Linked DNA regions of Homo sapiens: region 2 is linked to region 1. The links are contacts of gene promoters, found by promoter capture Hi-C in human tissues and cell types (Jung and others, 2019). All regions are on one chromosome and are shown on one strand. The core of a region is centred on a gene start or on the middle of the fragment in contact, and the rest is flanking DNA. Distances in the headings are between cores, read along the strand shown. Region 1 holds the start of KRTAP5-9 (keratin associated protein 5-9). Region 2 has its middle 25 kb from the start of DHCR7.

Evidence for each region. Contacts are between HindIII fragments. The study calls those that stand out against the background at their distance.
Region 2: a fragment that was not itself captured here is called in contact with the fragment with the promoter of KRTAP5-9 in region 1 in 3 of the 25 tissues and cell types used here (liver, lymphoblastoid cells and mesendoderm cells).

What each region holds. Positions count from the first base shown.
Region 1 is chr11:71,546,368-71,550,187 of GRCh38, reverse strand. KRTAP5-9 (keratin associated protein 5-9) reads right to left here and starts at 1,768. Exons shown (of 1, transcript NM_005553.4): 1 at 580-1,768. The coding sequence starts at 1,530. The coding sequence ends at 1,021. RefSeq lists enhancers at 1,203-1,262, 805-1,349, 1,350-1,895. The HindIII fragment of the contact is 7,685 bases long and covers 1-3,256 here.
Region 2 is chr11:71,420,898-71,424,900 of GRCh38, reverse strand. It overlaps the pseudogene ACTE1P. Among named protein-coding and RNA genes, the nearest start is that of DHCR7, 25 kb to the left of the region's middle. RefSeq lists a silencer at 1,350-1,399. The HindIII fragment of the contact is 6,463 bases long and covers 1-4,003 here.

The DNA.
Region 1 (3,820 bases), core at 519-3,018:
GACACTTGGATTCCTCCTCACTCTGAGCCCAGAGATGGAGGGTGCACTTCAGCCTGTGTTCAGCCACACCGTCTTGGATCCTTGAAGCAGCACAGTTTCCAGTGTTGTCCTACAGAGCATCTCAGGGACACAGCTCATTCTAGTCTCGCTTCCCCATCTCCTGGCTTGACCCACAAACTGGGGACTGGCTGGACCCAGAGAGCACCCATTACATCCCTTCCTAGGCACTGAGGGCAAAGTTCTCCTTCTCTCCCAAACATATCCTCCCATGGGGAAGAAGTAGGAGTCCAAATTCCAACCAAGACAGACTGAATCCCACTGAGATACAGCTGGGACTCCCTGTGTACTAATGAGAGATACTCACTCATTCACTCATTCATTCCTCGTCTTCATTCATTCATACATACTGCTAGTGGTTCCTTCATTAATCAGTTCAACAACTGTTTCTGGAATGGGAGCTGGGCCTGGCACACTGTTACAGCAGTGGGAGCAATAAGCTATCAGGGAGGAGGGGAAGGACATGTGGCCAGTTTGCCAATGAGACAGAGGCTGGAAGAAAAGAGTCAGTGAGACCAAGGCTGAGGGATGGAGAATTTATTTAGTGCTGCACCCAGATGCATTTTGGATTTCCATAGATACATGTGATCATTTGGGTTGCAGGACATCCATCTGCAAATGTCGTGAAGCTCCTGGCAGGCAAAGGAAAGAAGGGTTTGCTGTCTCCCATGGAATTATCAAGAAGGGGAATTCCAGGCTCTTGCTTGGCATGAGGGCAGCCCCCAGTGCAGTTTGGCTCAGACATATGGGGGCATGTGGGAAAGAGGGGCAAAATTGCCTGGGTCTTGGGATATTCTTATAGGGAATGGGCAGGGAGTGGTTCATTCCATTTCCTCAGGGGCTGGAAAAAGACGCCCTGAGCCAAGGGCTCTTTTCAGATCCAGAAGGGGATGTGCTTCAAGGGTAGTCACTTGTTGGAAAGCACAGATCTTCAGGAGCTACCTGAGGTTTCCCACTAGAGCCTCAGATCTTGCACTGGTAGCACACAGGGACACAGCATCTGGACTGGGAGCAGCAGGGCTTGCAGCAGCTGGACTGGCAGCAGGATGACCCACAGCCTGAGGATGAGCAGCAGGGCTTGCAGCAGCTGGATTGGCAGCAGGATGACCCACGACCCGAGGAGGAGCAACAGGGCTTACAGCAGCTGCACTGGGAGCAGTAGGGCTTGCAGCAGCTGCACTGGCAGCAGGATGACCCACAGCCTGAAGAGCAACAGCAGGGCTTGCAGCAACTGCACTGGGAGCAGCCACAAGAACCACAGCCTCCCTTGGAGCCCCCACAGGAGCCACAGCCCCGCTTGCCACAGCTAGAGCAGGAACAGGCTGGAACACAGCAGCACACGGGCTTGCAGCAGTAGACGGGTGCACAGCAGCTGGGGCCACAGCCCCTGCAGCCAGAGCCACAGCTCCCACAGCTGGAGTCACAGCCTCCACAGCTGGAGCCACAGCCTCCGGAGCAGCCACAGCAGCCCATGGTTCTGGTGGATTGAGGGTGGAGCAGGTAGAGGAGCAGGTGAGAAGGAGGTGCAGGTGTGGAGCCCCCTGAGCCCCGGCTCTTTATATCCCACATAGGAACACACCATTGTTTCTCTTTCCGGTTGCTGTTACACAGCTCCTGGAGGTATGTCTTGATTGTTTTTCTTTGGCTATGTTGATATTTTCTGGATCCAAGTATGAGCCCTTCCTCCTGAGATGATTTCCTTGTGGAATTCATACTGAAAGGAAAAACAGCTCCAACGCTGGCTCACCTCAGGAGGAAGTGCAGCTTCCTCAAGGTCTGTCCCAGTTCCTAACTCTTATTCTTCCTGGGCCTTTGAGCAGATCCAGTCAGCTCCCGAGCCCCAGCTTCTTCTCCTGCAGAGGGGTGCTAGCAACACCAGCCTCCGGGGGTTGCCTGAGAATTACCTGAGATCATTCATGTATTGCGTCTTTTGCAACACCCCAACTCCCCATCCCCCATGCTCATGCAGGGTTCCGTCTTGGCAGGACTGGGTCAATGTTGTGGGTTTTTGACGTTTGATGCTGTGAGACGCCCTCCCTCCCCAGAGCAGTGCCACTCTCTACCTGATTCCTGCTGATTCCCCCAGGGATGTGGTATCTTCTCTGTGGCAACTGTGGCTGAGGATGGCAGGGTTCTCAGCAGTGGGGAAGGAGGCATCCTCTGTCTACCTCCTCCCTATTCCTGGACCAGGAATAGGCCAGGGCAATGGGCTCTGTGATTACAGAAGGGAATTTCACACAGCATGGTCCTTGGGGACACGTGAGCAGAGCTTCCCGCTGCTTTGAAACTATTGTCTGGACAGGTTCTTCTCTTGGAGGAAAACAAAGCTTGGAGCAGAACTTGGAGGGTGGTAGGGGGACCATGATGGGTACAAAGAGCAGCCAAGAGACAGGAAGGATACTCCAGCTAGGAGGCAGGGCACCAGCAATGGTGTGGAGGCTGCAGGTGCAGGAACCCATCGGTACGGTCCACACTCAGATGCGGTTAAAATGTGTGATGAGTGGATGTGCAGGCTTACGACATTCCAGTGTGCCTCAGCTGACTTGGGGTGAAATCCAAACCCCTGACACTGGCCCCATCCACCTCTCCAGCTGGATTTGACCGTGGCCTTGGCCACCCATCGTTGCAGAACCAATCAGCCCAAAGCTCAGTGGATCAGTAGTTCAGATCCGGCACTGGATGGTGGCACAGGCCGCATGATTTGTGGGGTCTCAATTGGGAAGGTACCAATGGCTAACGATGGCAGCATGGCTTGGCTGGGCTGTATTTTGGGACCTCAGTTCCGGCTGTCTGCAGGGTTCCTTGGTTTTTCTGTAAATTATGTCAGCTGGGGCTGGCTTGTCCAAGATGCTGTGTTCACACACCTATGGGATGGCTACAACAGGTGAGGCCGGACAGATCTCCCTCCCCTCCCCCACCTCACGGCCTCTTCCCACGGCTGGCTTGGGCTTCCTCACAGCATGGTGGGCTCAGGGCAGCTGTACTTCCTAGGAGGTCACTCGAGCAGAGGCTAGAAGGTGCCTTATGACCCAGCCTAGGAATCCTAGAGTATTTCTCCCTCCTCAAGTCACTGAGGCCAGCCCAGATTGCAGAGAGAAGAGAAAGTCCACCTCTCCGTGGGAGGAGAATGACTTGGTGTCATCTTCAGACTGCCTCAATCATTCTTCATCCAGCCCTGGATTGGTGCCGGGGCCACACCGCACTCCTCCTTACGACCTGTGTGCTGGCAGTTCCTTACATGGAACAGACTCACCCAGGACCGCCCTGGACTGCGTCCCTCCTGTCTGCCCAACTCAGATCCACCTCTGACACCCCGTCCCGAGATAGCTACCCCCACCACCTTGCACTTTCTGTTTCATTTATTGATTCCCACGATGCCAAGCTGGCTCTGCTCTCATCCTTGTTTGTTCTTAGAGGTGTGTGTCCCACTCCAGGGGGGTGTGAGTTCTGAAGGGGCAGCGACTTTATCCCACACGCAGCCATGTAGCTGTGTCACCAACACCTGGACATGCTCCATCATCGTCATTGAGAGAGGGAGGTGTTAACTGAAGAAGGACGAGGTCGTCAATTTGGAAAGGAGCGCTTTACTTCTCATAAAGTGCTGCGGGCTGAGTGTGGCTGTTCTGACTGGTTGGGAGGCGCAGCCTCTGGTAGGAAGCTGGAAACAGACACTTGGAGGGAGGGAAGAATAAAGCAGAGATCTACACTGAGTGGGGGTGGCTGAATATGCATATTCAATAAGCTGTGGGAGGGACATGAATAT
Region 2 (4,003 bases), core at 740-3,239, 130 kb after region 1:
CACACTCAGATAACTTTTTAATTTTTTGTAGAATCATGGTTTTGCTATATTGCCCAGGGTGGTCTTGAATTCCTGGCTTCAAGGGATTCTCCTACCTTGGCCTCCCAAAGTGCTGGGATTACAGAAGTGAACCACAGCACCCTGCCCACACTCATGCTTATAGCCTTCTGTCTCGTTTTTTTCTGATAGAATTCTAACAGTCCCAAAGCTCTGTCCTACAGACCCTTAGCACCTAGAGCAGCAAATTTGGAGGAAAAAGAGGGTTTCCCAGTTGAGTCCCAGTGATGACAGTCAACATCTGGTTGGCCATCACGTGATGTTCACGGAGGTGGCATTAGGAACTGGTCCCTGACATATGGAAGTGAGGATGTTAAAGTCCACTACTCCAGCAGGGTGTGGTGGCGGGCACCCATAGTCCCAGCTACTGGGGAGGCTGAGGCAGGAGAATCGCTTGAGGCCAGGAGTTTGTGTACGGCCTGGGCAACACAGCAAGATTCCATCTGAGATTTGTTTTCACGTGAACGACTCCACGGAGGCCCTCTGCGTTCACTTGCCGACTGGCAGAGACAGTGCCATCATGCCTCTCAGTCAGGCTTCAGCAGTCCTGACTACCTTCTGTTTGCACAGCCTCAACTGTCAGGTTGAAATGTGCGGCGTCTCCACGCTGAGCTGCCCCGTGTCCTTCTACAGCTGCCTATTGCTGTCGTTTCAGCCCAGGTAAATGTCCCGCCCATGTAAGTGAGCTGCACCTTCCTCTGCCCTTGCCTTGTCCCAGCCAGACGACCTGGACCCTCCTTCTGCCTGCTCCACACATGTGGCTACCTCTCCAGTATCCCCAGGATACCTCCCACGCCTCCCCTGCTCACAGCTGAGGGCAGGGATGCTCCATACTTCGAGCTCTCTTCAGCCTCCCAGTTTCTTGGCCATCCCGGCAAAAGTCTTAGGGCCGCTGTTGTCCTTGGTAGGACAGATCGCTGGAAGGTCACACACTCCAAAACAACCATAAGGATGGTGATAGATAAAGTAGAAACACGAGCATAAAAGCAAAAAGGTAATATTCTGGGGCTGCTGCTGCCAGGGACTGATGCCCACACAGGGCGGGGCCCCTAAGATCACGGCTGTGTTACAGCACATTGCCATTATTGCGCATGATGGTGGCCTGAGCTACCCAGAAGAGGCCACCTGACACCCAGCATCCCTGCTCAGGAAGGCAGGCAGTTTTGTAATGCCCTTTAGAGATCTTGGTGCATTTAAAAACATCCTGCTCTACTTAGTTTTTGTTAACCGGATTATTCAGTTATAGGGAATGATTCATTCTCTAATGAAAAGAGCAGAAGGGTTGTGGGTGGGTTGCATTATAGGTGATTTTCAAAGAGTTCTTTGTTTCAGTAGCTCTGGTTTGGCCTAGATGTTTTCACTGTTTAAGTCTTTCAGAATCTTTTTTTTTTTTAATTTTTAAATAGGAAGTGAGAACATCCCCGAGCAAGACCAACAATTGCTGAATAAACACAAACCCCCTTGAGAATCACGCCGACAGGTGCTATCTCTTCACCTGGGGATTGCAAAGGTGAGAGAGGAGGCCAGTGCCTCCCTGTGTCTGGAGAATCATATAGGGGTTGCTCTGGGAGTTTTAAGTTTCTCCTGAGTGAAAGTTAGTGGTTTTACATGTTCTCTTGATGCTACTTTTTACCTCTTCCTCCGGCTACTAAAAAAGCTTTCCTTGTAGGTGAAAATGGAACCGAATTAGTTCTGTGATCTTGTTCCATTCTAAAAGGGATTTGATTTTCCATTCATTCATCCCAAAACTGTTGCATACCTACTATGTGCCAGACTTTATTCTGGCCAGAAAAGATTCTTGATGTTACTGGAATTCAGTAATTTCTGTGGGCATGTGCTCAAAAGCAGGCTGCAAAGTCCTGGAGCCAGGGGTCCTGGCAGAACTCTTAGGAGAGGGATGGGTTTCTGTAACATGTCTGACACAGACCAGCAAGGCCACATTTAAACCAAGGCTGTGTGTGTGTGTTTTTTTAATTTAAATTTTAATTTTAAGTTCCTGGGTACATGTGCAGGACGTGCAGGTTTGTCACATAGGTAAACGTATGCCACGGTGATGTGTTGCACCTATCAACCCATCACCTTGTTATTAAGCCCCACGTGCATTAGCTATTTATCCTGATGCTCTCCGTTCCCCCACCCCACCCCCTGACAGGCACCAGTGTGTGTTACTCCCCTCCTTGTGTCCATGTGTTCTCATTGTTCAGCTCTCACTGATAAGTGAGAACATGCAGTGCTTGGTTTTCTGTTCTTGTGTTAGTTTGCTGAGGATAATGGCTTCCAGCTCCATCCATGTCCCTGCAAAGGACATAATCTCATTCCTTTTCATGGCTGCATAGTATTCCATGGTGTATATGCACCAGATTTTCTTTATCCAGGTATGTTTATTAAGGGGAAGGCCCAACCATGCATTGTGTGCGGCCACCTGGTGAATGAAAAGCAGGTTGGTATTTTCTTCCAAATACACATATGTATATATAGGTATATATATATTTACATGGGTAAATTGCATGTCGCAGGGGCTTGGGGTACAGATTATTTCATCATCCAGGTAATAAGCATAGTACTTGATAGGTAGTTTTTTGATCCTCACCCTCCTCCCGTCCTCCACCCTCAAGGGGGCCCCACCCTTTATTGTTCCCCTCTTTGTGTCCATGTGTACTCAATGCTTAGCTGTCTCTTATAACTGAGAACATGTGGTATTTGGCTTTCTGTTCCTGCATATATATATATACACATTATATATATATATATATATATATATATACATTTTATATATATATATACATTATATATATATATACACATTATATATATATATATATGTGTGTGTGTGTGTGTGTGTGTGTGTGTGTGTGTGTGTGTTTCAGTAGCTCTGGTTTGGCCTAAATGTTTTCACTGTTTAAGTCTTTCAGAATCTTTTTTTTTAAATTTTTAAATAGGAAGTGAGAACATCCCCGAGCAAGACCAAAAATTGCTGAATAAACACAAACCCCCTTGAGAATCACGCCAAGAGGTGCTGCCTCTTCACCTGGGGATTGCAAAGGTGAGAGGGGAGACGAGTGCCTCCCGGTGTCTGGAGAATCATATGCGGGTGTGCTGCCTTTGGAGCACAAATATATATATATACATATTTGAAATTCACAAACGTTTGCATTTCTCGCCAGCGACACAAGCCGGCTACCACTGCTGAAAGTGAGGCGGCCTCCAGTCAAGGTCTAGGGACTTGACCTGGTTTGATCTGGCTACACTCCCACTGCTCAATTTAGACTCTGCCCAGACTAACAGCGAGAGTGTAGCCAGATCCAGACCTTACCAACACGCTCCTTCCTCCCCTGTCCTACCAAGCTGGAATTCACTGTCAATATCCTCCATAGAAGACAGAGTTGGCTTCCAACAGTATCAGGGGATGCAGGCAAAGGGGGTGATGGGGCCTGAGATAAGTTTCAGTTCAGCATACAGGGGGCATCTGTGCCTGAATGACCAACCTTGGTAACTGGTATGACTTACTGTTCTCACTGAAAATACTACAGCTCTCCAAGTTGGAAAACAACATCAAGAATCTTTTCTGGCCAGAATAACGTCTGGCACATAGTAGGTATGCAACAGTTTCGGGATGAATGAATGGAAAATCAAATCCTAAGAGGAAGCTTCCTTCCAGACTGATCATACGTCATTGTCATAGGTGTCTCCATTGAAACACTCCACCAGGAGTGGGCAAACTGATTCTGAAAAGGGCCAGTGAGTAAATATTTGGGGCTTTGTAGGTCAGGAGGTCTCTGCTGCGATTACTCACCTCTGCCATTGCAGCGAGAAAACAACCGCAGACAATAAACACAGAATTAAATCAGCATGTTCCAATACAACTTTATTTACTAAAGCAGTCGGTTGGCCAGATTTGGCGTGTGGGCCACAGTTTGCCAACCCCTGCGCTAGACACGCTCACCAT